3 separate regions of the Homo sapiens genome follow, and regions 2 and 3 are each linked to region 1. Evidence: promoter capture Hi-C in human tissues and cell types (Jung and others, 2019). All regions are on one chromosome and are shown on one strand. The core of a region is centred on a gene start or on the middle of the fragment in contact, and the rest is flanking DNA. Distances in the headings are between cores, read along the strand shown. Region 1 holds the start of PLA2G1B (phospholipase A2 group IB). Region 2 overlaps P2RX7 (purinergic receptor P2X 7). Region 3 holds the start of SPPL3 (signal peptide peptidase like 3).

What was found. The method cuts DNA at HindIII sites, captures the fragments that hold promoters and counts their contacts. A contact is called where the count stands out against the background at its distance.
Region 2: a fragment that was not itself captured here is called in contact with the fragment with the promoter of PLA2G1B in region 1 in 1 of the 25 tissues and cell types used here (IMR-90 fibroblasts).
Region 3: a contact is called between the fragment with the promoter of SPPL3 here and the fragment with the promoter of PLA2G1B in region 1, in 2 of the 25 tissues and cell types used here (mesendoderm cells and small bowel).

What each region holds. Positions count from the first base shown.
Region 1 is chr12:120,325,148-120,329,517 of GRCh38, forward strand. It overlaps PLA2G1B (phospholipase A2 group IB), which reads right to left and starts at 2,632. Exons shown (of 4, transcript NM_000928.3): 1 at 2,573-2,632; 2 at 714-873. The coding sequence starts at 2,606. RefSeq lists an enhancer at 529-588. The HindIII fragment of the contact is 11,861 bases long and covers 1-4,370 here.
Region 2 is chr12:121,173,675-121,178,044 of GRCh38, forward strand. It overlaps P2RX7 (purinergic receptor P2X 7), which reads left to right. Exons shown (of 13, transcript NM_002562.6): 9 at 1,714-1,804; 10 at 3,473-3,538; 11 at 3,623-3,772. The region is part of intron 2 of LOC105370032 (a long non-coding RNA gene); the gene reads right to left. Among named protein-coding and RNA genes, the nearest start is that of P2RX4, 34 kb to the right of the region's middle. The HindIII fragment of the contact is 8,089 bases long and covers 1-4,370 here.
Region 3 is chr12:120,901,740-120,906,109 of GRCh38, forward strand. SPPL3 (signal peptide peptidase like 3) reads right to left here and starts at 2,619. Exons shown (of 11, transcript NM_139015.5): 1 at 2,106-2,619. The coding sequence starts at 2,128. It overlaps XLOC_009911 (a long non-coding RNA gene), which reads left to right and starts at 2,956. Exons shown (of 2, transcript NR_131215.1): 1 at 2,956-3,033. RefSeq lists silencers at 1,969-2,018, 2,159-2,378, 2,459-2,818. The HindIII fragment of the contact is 15,749 bases long and covers 1-4,370 here.

The DNA of each region.
Region 1 (4,370 bases), core at 1,382-3,881:
GATGACTTCGCCAAGATGCTTCAGGAGAAATGATCCTATGGCTTGAAAAAATATAAGTCCTTTTATCATATATTTATTGAAAGCATTTTTTTTTTTTGAGACAGAGTTGCTCTGTTACCCAGGCTGGACAGCAGTGACACGACCTTGGCTCACTGAAACCTCCAACTCAGTCTCCCAAGTAGCTGGGGTTACAGGCGCTCGCCACCATGTCCGGCTAATTTTTGTATTTTTTAGTAGAGACAGGGTTTCACCATGTTGGCCAGGCTGGTCTCGAACTCCTGACCTCAAGTGATCCGCCCGCCTCGGCCTCCCAAAGTGCTGGGATTACAGGCATGAGCCACCGCGCCTGGCCTGAAAGCGATTTTTAACATGGTTGCAAGAATACAGTAAAATCCTGTATTCAGAAGGTGCAGTGACAACCACTGCTAGAAAATGACACGTGGATAGTTGCTGTGATGTTTACTGTTGCTACATTCTGCCACTGGAGGGCAGCATCGCCCACTGTTTTGCACGTCGGTCATTGTTTCCATCTCTAACGGGGTGCGTTCGCTACAGGGTCCTCTTGGAACATATTTGTTTATTTGACAAGAGGTGAAAATATGTTATCCTTAGCAGATATGCAAGTCCCCTTTGTATGCCTCGTGAGATCCTTGGCGTGTGCCCCACCCCGCCCCCGGCAGGCACTCCAATTTTCCTGCAGGCGGATCACTTACTTGTCCAGTTCATCCACGGGGGTGCCTGAGCCCCCCAAGCCACAGTAGCAGCCGTAGTTGTTGTATTCCAAGAAGGGGTCACTCCCCGGGATCACGCACTTGATCATTTTGCGGAACTGCCACACGGCCCGAGGGCTGATGCCGCTGTCGGCGGCGGCCACTGCAAGAAGACATAGCCAGAGTTCAAATCGGTCTGCCAGCACCCCGGGGACACACTGCCTTCCTGCTCCCTCGGGTCCCACGCTGCCTCCCTGACCCCTGCCAGCTGCCTCCTCTGAAGACCGTTGGACCCAGGAACCTGGTAAAGTGAAAGTGGGTAGAGGTTTTTTTTTTTTTTTAATGAAAACTTTATATATATAAAGTTTATATCTTTGTGTGTGTGTATATATATATATATCTTCTTCTTTTTCTTCTTCTTCTTCTTCTGGGACCCTACCGCCTCAGCTAGGATTACAGGCATGTGCCACCCAGCTAGGCCTGATAGTTTTTTTTTTTTTTTTGAGATGGAGTCTTGCTCTGTTGCCCAGGTTGGAGTGCAGTGACACGATTTCAGCTCACTGCAAACTCTGCTTCCCGGGTTCACGCCATTCTCCTGCCTCAGCCTCCCTAGGTCAGATAGTTTTAAACTATCTGCACTGTTTATCCAGTGAATATTTATTGAGCACTTACTATGTGCCAGGCTCTGTCCTAGGAGCTAGAGATACAGCAGTGAACAGATATAATAATAATAATAATAATAATAATAATAATAATAATAATAATAATCTCTAACCTCATGGAGCTTACAACCTAGTGGGAGAGAAAAACAATAAATAATAAATGTGATAAGGCCGGGCACGGTGGCTCATGCCTGTAATCCCAGCACTTTGGGAGGCCGAGGCAGGCGGATCACAAGGTCATGAGATCGAGACCATCCTGGCTAACACGATGAAACCCCGTCTTTATTAAAAATACAAAAAAATTAGCGGGGCGTGGTGGCAGGCGCCTTTAGTCCCAGCTACTGGGGAGGCTGAGGCGGGAGAATGGCGTGAACCCAGCAGGTGGAGCTTGCAGTGAGCCGAGATCGCACCACTGTACTCCAGCCTTGGCGACAAAGCAAGACTCTGTCTCAATAATAATAAGAATAATAATAAATGTGATAAGTAAGGAAACTGGATACTGCATTAGAAAGGGGAAGAATAGAGCAGGATGAGGAGAATCTAAAAGGGAGGTCACCCAGCCTGGCCAACATGGTGAAAACCTGTCTCTACCAAAAAAAACACACAAAAAATTAGCTGGGCATGGTGGTGTGTGCCAGCTACTTGAGAGCTACAAGTCCCAGCTACTTGAGAGGCTGAGGCAAGAGAATTATTTGAACCCAGGAGATGGAGGTTGTAGTGATCTGAGATCACGCCACCGCACTCCAGCCTGGGCGACAGAGTGAGCCCCGTCTCAAAAATAAAATAAAGTAAAATAAAAATAAAAATTAAAATAAAATAAAATAAATGGGAGATTGGCCTAACTACTTAGTTGAGTAAGGTGGGAGGATCACTTGAGCCCACGAGTTGGAAGCTGTGGTGAGCTATGATCATGCCACTGAACTCCAGCCTGGGTGATAGAGCAAGACCCTGTCTGGAAAAAAGAAAATAAAGGCAAGCTTTCTTAGCTCAGGCAATCTGAGTTCAGACTTGCAGGTTGAAAAAGTGCCAGCCTTGAGGGAACCCCAATAGAGGAGCCCTTAAGCCCCACTGGGAACCTCGAATTGAGACTGCGGGGCTGGCCATCCCTGTTTGCTGTGGCCTGTGGCCCCCATTCCAGAGGAGTGAGATCTTAGCTCACTTGGGAGAGAAAGGCGGGTGGAGCCGGGGAGACTTGCCTACCTGTGAGCAGCACAGCTAGCACAAGGAGTTTCATCTTGCAGTCAAGGTGAGAAAAGAACTGAGATGACCAGTCTCAGGTATAGTCTTATAGTCAGTCTCCACACAACCCTGCCCAGATAAGGCTGGAGTGTTTGCTTTGCTCTTGGCTGAGTTTGGGGCTGGCCTTGAATCTGTCTGTTGCAGGAATGACCCTGACGATTTGCCAGCATGGGATCACTGGAAAATATGTTATGCATTTGTCCTTAGCAACTGTTAACCAAAGGGATGGTTTCTGGAGTTTTCAGATCTTACAATCTTGACCCTCATACCCACCACTTTGTACTCAGCCCAGCTTCACGGGCTGGTTGGGGAAAGCAAAGCCGTCAGTTCAGTCGGACGCTGGGATAAGGGAGACAAGAAGGAAGTGCAGCCTGGGCAACATAGAGAGACCTCATCTCTAAAAAAAAAAATGTTAACCAGGTGTGGTGGTGGATTGCACCTGTGATCCCAGCAACTCAGGAGGCTGAGATGGGAGGATCTCTTGAGCCAGGGAGGTCAAGGCTGCAATGAACAGTGATTGAGCCTCTGCAGCAGAGTGAGACCCTATTTCAAAAAAAAAAAAAAAAAAAGAAAGAAAGAAAAAAGATCGCTGCCTGCAGCCTCAATGTCTTATCAAGTGCCTGAATCTGTGCACTGGGTCTGGTTGAATAGTCCCATCAGTCGTGCACCTTGCAGATAAAGAGACAGGTTCAGAGAGTTGCGGTAACTTGCCCAAGGTCACACAGTTGGCAAATGACAAAATAGGGCTCCAGTTTAGATCTGTCTGATTCCAAGGCAGAGGTTTTATTTTTTTCCACCACTCCGCTCTGCAGTGTGGGTTTGTGAGAAAAACCTGGGCTTTGGATTCCAAAGGCCTGAGTCTGAATTATAGAATACTAAAGGGCATTAGAACTGTCATATCAGAGGCCAGGCACGGTGGCTCATGCCTGTAATCCCAGCACTTTGGGAGGCTGAGGCTGGCAGATCACCTGAGGTGGAGAGTTCGAGACCAGCCTGACCAACATGGAATAACCCTGTCTCTACTAAAAACACAAAATTAGCCAGGCATGGTGGCTTATGCCTGTAATCCCAGCTACTCCGGAGGCCGAGGCAGGAGAATGGCTTGAACCCTGGAGGCGGAGGTTGCGGTGAGCTGAGATCACGCCATTGCACTCCAGCCTAGGGAACAAGAGCAAAACTCCATCTCAAAAAAAAACCTGTCACATCACATATCTATTTATTTATATATATTTTTTGAGACGGAGTCTTGCTCTGTTGCCTAGGCTGGAGTGCAATGGCGCGATCTTGGCTCACTGCAAGCTCTGCCTCCCAGGTTCATGCCATTCTCCTGCCTCAGCCTCCCAAGTAGCTGGGACTACAGGCACCCACCACCACGCCCGGTTAATTTTTTTTTTTGTATTTTTAGTAGAGATGGGGTTTCACCGCATTAGCCAGGATGGTCTCGATCTCCTGACCTCGTGATCCACCTGCCTCGGCCTCCCAAAATGCTGGGATTACAGGCGTGAGCCACCGCGCCCGGCCAAATATCTACATAACATTGTTTAGCTGAAATTCACATAACATTAACCACGTTTAAGTAAACAATTCGGGGGCATTTAGTACCTTCACAGTGTTGTGCAACCATCACCTCTATGGGGTTCCAGAACATTTTTATCACTCCAGAAGGAAACCCTGTACCCATTAGCAGTCACACTCCCTCAGCCCCTGGTAACTGCTAATCTGCTTCTCTCTCTCTCTCTCTTTTTTTTTTGAGACAGAG
Region 2 (4,370 bases), core at 756-3,255, 850 kb after region 1:
GGGAAACAGCTTAGGGTTAACTACTTTGAATAATGCCAGTAGGTTCTGAGTTACAGGAATGGTCTCTAAATGTCTGGCCCTCACCCTACCTGTCCCTAAGGAGAAATACTGGAGAGTTAGAAAAGGAGGTGGTTGAGGGATTGGTTGGAGGGTTTGTAATATGATTTTCACACCCTCACAAAAGCTGGATTGCAGAGGAGATGTAAACAACTTCAGCCTTGGGAGGCCAAGATGAAAGGATGGCTTGAAGCCAGGAGTTCAAGGCTGCAACAAGCTATGATTACACCACTGCACTCCAGCCTGGTTGAAGGAATGAGATCCTGATTCTACAAAACATTTTTGAAAAAAACTTTTTTATTTTTTCTTTTCTTTTCTTTTTTTTTTTTTTTTTTTGAGACAGTCTTGCTCTGTCACCCAGGCTAGAGCGCAGTGATACGATCTCGGCTCACTGTGACCTCCATCTCCTGGGTTCAAGTGATTCTCGTGCCTCAGCGTCCTGAGTAGCTGGGATTACAGGTGCCTGCCACCATGCACGGCTAATTTTTGTATTTTTAGTAGAGATGGGGTTTCACCATGTTGTCCGGGCTGGTCTTGAACTCCTGACCTCAAGTGATCCACCCGCCTCGGCCTCCCAAAGTGCTGGGATTACAGGTGTGAGCCACGGTGCCCGACCAAAAAATTTAAAAATAAAAATTAGCCACCTGTAGTGGTGCACGCTTGTAGTCCCACCCAGCTACTTGGGAGGCTGAGGTGGGAGTATCACTTGGGCCCAGGAGGTGGAGGCTGCAGTGAGCTCTGATCATGCCAGTGCTCTCCAACCTGGGTGACAGAACAAGACCCCACCTCAAAACAAAACAAAACAAAAAACACAACTTCAGCCTTTAGTTTGGCCCTGTGATTAATGATTGCCAAATAGGCATACACAGAATCTAAGAAAATACAGTTTGCTGAGGTGTGCCTGTCTCCAGTCCAGTAATTAGTATGCAAGATTTACCACCGCCCACTCCCACTTTGTTCTAGATGCCAAACCTCTTCTTCCCCCTTAAGGAATAGTCATATTGCTTGAAGTTTTTTTTTTTTAATTTCTCTGCTTGTTGTTAATCCTGTGTTGGTTTAAAATGTGCATTTTAATCTTAAGCGACAAGCTGATTTTCCGTCACTCTGAGATGATGCAGGTACAGGTGGTGACATGGGGAGGGGGGACTGCTCTTTGGTTCCAGGTGGTTGGAGAGAGACCCAGGGCTTTGGATTGTGTTCCTTCCCCTGCCACCTGTCACAGAGCCAGGGGACAGACCAGGAGGACTAGACAGGCCACTGTTTTGGCTTTTCCTTCCATAAAATACCAGCATTTTTTGCCAGATGCAGTGGCTCATGCCTGTAACCCCAGAACTTTGGGAGCCTGAGGCAGGCAAATCACTTGAGCTCAGGAGTTCGAGACCAGCCTGGGCAACATGGCAAAAGCCCGTCTCTACAAAAAATACAAAAAATTAGCCGAGCACGGTGGTGCATGCCTGTAGTCCCAGCTACCTGGGAGACTGAGGTGGGAGAATCATCTGAGCCTAGCAAGTCAAGGCTGCAGTGAGTGGTAATCCTGCTACTGCACTCCAGCCTGGGTGACAGCGTGAGACCCTGTCTCAAAAAAAAAAAAAAAAAAACCCAAAACCCAGCACTTTCAAAGGGATCTTACAAATACAGATCCTTTTCTTCCTACAGATACGCCAAGTACTACAAGGAAAACAATGTTGAGAAACGGACTCTGATAAAAGTCTTCGGGATCCGTTTTGACATCCTGGTTTTTGGCACCGTAAGTCTCGTTTCCCAGCTCCGGGCACCGGCATCCTATGACTGTGTCCTAATTACTGCTGTGGGGCCTCCATGGAGGGAAGGGTTTTGGTCTCAGCCTTCAGCTAGCACTGGGCATTTCGCACATGGGATAAAAGAGGAAGAAGATGTTCTCGGGCTGCTGTCCCTGAATGAGTCATCTGACGAGTACAGGAGTGGGCCTGGAAAGCAATTCTAACATTCGGCTTTAAAAATACTCTGATACTTAACAAGAGAGAGAAAGAAATCTCTCTGTAAAATAGTTTGTAAGTAACAGAATCCAATTCAAATTGGCTTAAGGGGAAAAAAAAAGTTTTGAGTGGGCTTTTTTGGGTTCACGTAACTGAAAAAATCCAGGGGTTATTTTTAAGCTACAAGCATGGTTGGATCCAGGTGTTCAAACAACAACATCATCATCAAGAACTTGCCACCTTCCGTGTCTTATATACGTCCTCCTTGGTCTTGGCAGCCATCTCTCTATGAAGGTATCAGGCAGCACCTTCGATCTGACCAGTTTAGCAACCTCAGTGAAAAGAAAACACCTCTTTGCCAGAAGGTTCAGCAAAGGTCTCAGACAAATGTCATTGGCTCTGATTGGCCCACTATGGATGACATGCCCACTGCTGAACTAATCACTGTGACCAGGGTCATGCCATACTCCCAGTGGTTAGTGTCGAACCAGCCCTAACCTAGCCCAGGGGCCAGCAGAGAGGCCAACACCCCAGCCCCTTCAACACACACACACACACACACACACACACACACACACACACACTACATGGACTGAAAAGAAAATTGGAGTGTTGCCTTCTGAAGATGGAAGGAAAAGATGCCAGCTATGCAAAAATCAACATATCCCACGACATCCTGTCCAAGAGCATGTTATCTATGTAAGACAGTGATAAGCAGGACTAGAAGCAATAAGATATAGCTGAGAGAATGCAAAGACCGCTGGGAATAAAAACCACAAGGCTGGGCCGGGCACGGTGGCTCATGCCTGTAATCCCAGCTCTTTGGGAGGCTGAGGCAGGTGGATCATGAGGTCAGGAGCTCAAGACCAGCCTGGCCAACATGGTGAAACCCTGTCTCTACTAAAAATGCAAAAAATTAGCTGGGCGTGGCGGTGGGTACTTGTAATCCCAGCTACTTGGGAGGCTGAGGCAGGAGTATCTCTTGAACCCAGGAGGCGGAGCTTGCAGTGAGCCGAGATTGCGCCACTGCACTCCAGCCTGGGCAAGAGTGCGAGACTCTGTCTCAAAAAAAAAAAAAAAAAAAAACCCACGAGGCCACCCAGACATTCCTTCCCTCTGCTTCTGAAGTAATGTCAAACCTTTTGGAGGAGAAGCTTGTCTGAAACCCTCACCTTGTATGGAGAAATGATAGCCCTTCAGTGGGTCTCCCCTTAATGTGTGGGCCCCAGTGCTTGCTCATGTAAAACCTTTATGGGTCCAAGCACACCCTGCACGGCTGAAGCAGGATGCCTGAGAGTCAGTTTCAGTCTGCGTAGTCTCTGCCTCAGCCAGCACTTGAACGCATCTATCCAAGTCACAGCATGAGGCTCCGCTCCCTGATAGAACCAACAATTGCACGTTGAAGCAAAAGAGCGTTGCTCTGAATTTCACCTGAGTAAACTCTCCCACTCTGTTTTTAGGGAGGAAAATTTGACATTATCCAGCTGGTTGTGTACATCGGCTCAACCCTCTCCTACTTCGGTCTGGTAAGAGATTCTCTTTTCCATGCTTTAGGAAAATGGTTTGGAGAAGGAAGTGACTAACGCAGCGCTTGTCTGCATTCTCCCCAGGCCGCTGTGTTCATCGACTTCCTCATCGACACTTACTCCAGTAACTGCTGTCGCTCCCATATTTATCCCTGGTGCAAGTGCTGTCAGCCCTGTGTGGTCAACGAATACTACTACAGGAAGAAGTGCGAGTCCATTGTGGAGCCAAAGCCGGTGAGGCCGCTGTGTTCACAGGACACCAAGACATGGAGAGATTCCATGAAATCACTCAGAAATGCACGAAAATTAGGCCCAAATCACAGGCTTCATCCTGTAGTGGATACGTCGCTGGGTTCTACCCCGATCAACCAACTCTCAGATAAATTTTTTGGTCTTAGAGAAGAATGGAAACAAAAATGGAGGGGCAAGATAGAGGGAAGGCAAATTTTTATGTCTAGGACTTGCCAATTTTGTCATTTATTTATTTATTTATTTATTTATTTATTTATTTATTTATTTATTTTCAGATGGAGTCTTGCTCTATCACCCAGGCTGGAGTGCAGAGGCATGATCTCGGCTCACTGCAGCCTCTGCCTCCCAGGTTTAAGTGATTCTCCTGCCTCAACCTCCCAAGTAGCTGGGACTACAGGGGCACACCACCACACCTGGCTAATTTTTGTATTTTTAGTAGAGATGGTGTTTAGCTATGTTGGCCAGGCTGGTCTCAAACTCCTGACTTCAAATGATCCACCCACTCGGCCTCCCACAGTGCTGGGATTATAAGTGTGAGCCACTGAGCCCAGCCTGTTTTGTCATTTATTAAATTGGTATA
Region 3 (4,370 bases), core at 1,369-3,868, 580 kb after region 1:
TGCCTGTAAAGCAAACAGAGCTGACATTGAAGGAAGTATTTTAGTAGAATAAATTTGTAAATTGTCAAACTTCACAAAGTAATCCCTCCTTAATAGAGCCAACTAATGTCAGAGAGAGGTCGTGTGTGTCCAACCTACCTAGTAAAACATTTTCATTTTCCCCATTTCTTGACCACTGAGTTTTCTATTCTTTCAACCATCCAGGGCCTCTGTACAGCACAGTAAAAACAGCAAAGCAGCCATTAGGACTCTCAGGGCCACAGCCATTAGGGCCAGAGTATGAGAAGCTCAAGATGAGTAACCACAAGGCATGACAGAAACACCTTTACCTTCATTTCTTACTCTGTCCAGAAGGAAGCTGAAATTGTAATCTTGTGTTCCCTACGACCTGCTACTGAAAGGCAGCTGTCACGCAAAACTATGAAATTAGCTTAAACCTCTTTTTAGAGCACGTGTTCACCAAGATTTTAATTCTTCCTTTAGGGTTACTTTGTCTCTCAGTTACCTTCTTCTTGAGATTGCACATACATCAATGAAGTTCTCTTAAGAATTATCATCTTCAATCCCCAACTCCCTTTCTCTTATGTGAAGACTCAATGAGTTACTGACTTATAACCTCTAACACTATAAATAATCCACTCAAAGTCTTCTACCTAAAACCATTCCTTATTTTCTGATATTACCCATTTCTTAGATGTTTCTCTAGGATAATTATAATTAATGTAGTAAGATCTGTGGCACTTCACAGTTTGCCAAGTGCTTTCTAAATGTACTCACTTAATCCTTACAGGCTGTGGAAAAGGTAATTCCCTCTATTTTATAGGTAAGGAAAAAGGACCGAAGAACTCACTACCATGTCGTATCAACAAAGCAAGTTGGTGGCAAACCGGACCTCCGAAATAGGTCTTCCAACTCCACACGGCATGCTCGTCCCATTCTATTATGCTCTTTTCTAAGAAGGGAATGTCTACAGTTCTGTCCCAAACCACATTTGCTTCAAGAGTAAACCATCTTCAAACCATTTCTCTAAATTGCAATCAGGTCCCCCACTCCTACGATCATGCCATTTCTTGCTTCCTCACTCTCCAGCTATGACTTCCTTCTCACTACCCGATTTCCACTCTTCATGGATACTGCCATCATTCCTTCAACCCGTCCTGCAAATATCCCACCTCTACATGCTAAAGGGAGACCCCTCATGTTCCTTCCCCCAAACCCTGGCACTCCCTTCTCCGGATATGTAGGTTGTCACCCCATAAACTACACAGTAGCTTCTCGCTTCTCGGCCCTTAACGAGCTACTTACTAACTTTAAAAGCCCCACAGAAATGAACTTAACTTGCAGGTCCTCCACCTCCACACTTGGCCCTGGGCGCCATTCCTCTGAAAATAATAGTACCAACCCTTACAAAGACTCTGCCCATGCCCCACTGTCACCAACGAATTCCTTTTCCAGAAGGAAAAGGAAACAGGTTCTTCAGGCTCCTCTTCCAACCTCTTCACCAGTGACTCCCCTCCAAGGTTCGTGGACTCTACCCCCGCAGTTTTCCTCCCCTCACTCCCGGGCCTCTGCCCACCTCACCAACTCTCCCTGCGCTCCCTGTCCCAGAGCCAAGCGGCGGCCGCTCCACTCTCCCAACTTAGAAGTTCTGCCTCTATCACCTGTTCTCACTAGAGCTTCCTCTCAGCCCAGCGGCCCACCTTTGCCCTGGCCTGCCTCTCTCCACCCCTTCGAGTCCTCCTGCCCAGGAAACACCCCCACGAGTCAGTTCCGGGGTGCCTGTCGGATTCAACTTCCCATCCGTGGGATTCCCACCCCCGGGGTCATGCTCCCCTTCTCCATCACCTGCTCCGCCCATAGCCAGATGACATCCGCCGCTGCCTCCTCCTCCATTCCCCTTCTCGGACGCCAGGTCCCCGGCCACTCACCGCCCTCCGTGCGCGCCAGCCGCCCCCTCCGGTGGGGAAGAGGGGGGCGTGCACCCCAACCCGCGCCCCCCCCCCACGACACGCACCTGTTCTTCCTCCTCTTCCCCTCGGCGGGCCGCGCCGGCGCCCCGACCCCCACCCTTGCCGCCTCCCGGCCTCCCGGAGCCCCGCACTCACCACGAGTAGGTCTGCTCCGCCATGGCGCTGCCTCTCGTGGGCTCCGCTGCAGGCTGTGGCCGGGCCCGGCGGCGGCGGGCTCGCTCGGGCCGTAGCTGAAGGCGCGGCCGGGGTCCGGTGCTTGCTTGCTTGCTCGCTCGCTGGCTCGCTGGCTGCACGGCGGGCCGGGAAGGCGGCTGGCGGGGAGAGGCCGGGCTCCGAAGCGGCCCCGCTCCCTGGGCCCCGGGGCGGGGCGGGCTCCGCTCTCGGCCTCCCTCACCCGCGGCGGCGGCGGCGGCTCCGCTGCAGCTCCAAACCCAACATGGCGGCGGCGGCGGCGCGGAGAACAAGGGGGCCCTGGGGCGGGCGAACGGCAAGACGGGCCCGCGCTCACTGCGCGCGGGGCCGCGGGAGCGCCGCGCTCGGGCGGCGGCGGCGGCGGCCGGGGGACATGGCCGGCGGGCGGAGGCGGCGGCGACTGAGGGGGGCGCTAGGCGATGAGGCGAGGCCACTCGATCACACCCGCCGAGGGGAGGAGGGGCGGGGGCGGGGGCGAGCCTTGGCCCCGCGCGGGTCACGTGCCCAAAACACGCTCACGTGATGCGCGCCCCGCCCCTCGAGCCGGGCCCATGCGCAGAGACGTCGGCTCCTGGGTTCTAGGCGGCTGCTGCTCGCACAGCCAGAGCAGTTGGGCCGCCTCCCGCTGCCTGGTGCCGCCCCCCTCCCCACGCGGAGATGTCGCCTCGGGTACCCTCTTCCGCCCCTCTCCGAGGGGCTGCTGCACCAGCCAATCGGGAACCCCGATGCGCGTCTGTTGGCTGCCACTCAGCTGTCAACCGTCAGTCAACAGTCTGCTGGCCACGGGCCCCCCAACTGTCAGTCAACCTGTCAGTCAACAGGCAGAGGGCTGCATTCCTTCGTTCGTATGTTCCTTGGTTCATTCATTCAGGTAGCAAATATTCCAGGCAGCCAACCTTTATTGCGCCCAGGCCCGGCACCAAGTCGAATACCCCACGCTTGCCTTCACAGAATCAATCAACAGATATTTGTTGGGTGCCAACCATGTGTCAACTCACTCTGCCTTCCTAGAGCTTACATTCTAAAGGAAGAGACATAGTCCAAGCCCACAAATAAGATAATTTCAGATGCTGCTAAGTTTTACAAAAACACATTTTGTAACACAAGGTGAGGGGACAGAGAGTGAGCAGAGGTGTGGGTTACTTTAGATAGGGTGGTCAAGGAAGGCCTCGCTTAGGAGGTGACATTTGAGCTGATATTGAATGATGACAGAGAGCTGGCCTTGCAAAGATCCACAGGAAAAGAGTTCCTGGCAGAGGGAACAGCAAGGGCAGAAGGCTCAGGAAACCGTCCATTTGGAGGTCTGGAAACCGGCACAGAAATAAACACGGTAGAGCTAGACCAGAGACCAACAAAGTGAATCTGGAGCTTAGATGGAGAGAGAAGAGAGAGATTAATTGAGGCCCCAGGTACTGCGGAATGCTTCCCCAGGAGTGGATGAGGCCGTCTGAAAGGGTGAGAGGCTTATCAAAGAAAAGTCATTCTTTTGGCCGGGCGCGGTGGCTCACGCCTGTAGTCCCAGCACTTTGGGAGGCCGAGGTGGGTGGATCATGAGGTCAGGAGATCGGGACCATCCTGGTTAACACGGTGAAACCCTGTCTCTACTAAAAATACAAAAAATTAGCCGGGCGTGGTGGTGGACGCCTGTAATCCCAGCTACTCAGGAGGTTGAGGCAGGAGAATGGCGTGAACCCCGGAGGCAGAGCTTGCAGTGAGCCGAGATTGCGCCACTGCACTCCAGCCTGGGCAACAGCGAGACTCTGTCTCAAAAAAAAAAAAAGAAAAAGAAAAAGAAAAAGAAAAAAAAAAAAGAAAAGGCATTCTAGAAAGAAAGAATGGCATGAAGTAAGGCCCAATTCCTGGTGAGCTTGAATCCGAGAGTGGGATGGGTGATTTGTGCTGGAGTGTTGAGAAAATATACTGAGAAGGTGCACTGAGGCCAGACTTTGAGGGCCCAGCTAAGCCTCCTTGCCAGTTACTGTGTTCATGAATAAAAATGATTAACCAGTGCAGCTTCAGAATTTAGAAACATGCCTGGGCAACAGATACACTAACCCTCCTGGACACCCCTCCACCCCCACCCTTCACCCCCCTGTTTCTCTGCAGAAGGCAAAACTCACACACCTGAAACCAACGTACTCAAGCTTCTCTGCAGCTTGCCCAACTTTAGGCCAGAATTTAGCTCTGCTCCAGTTTCCCAGGGCCTGC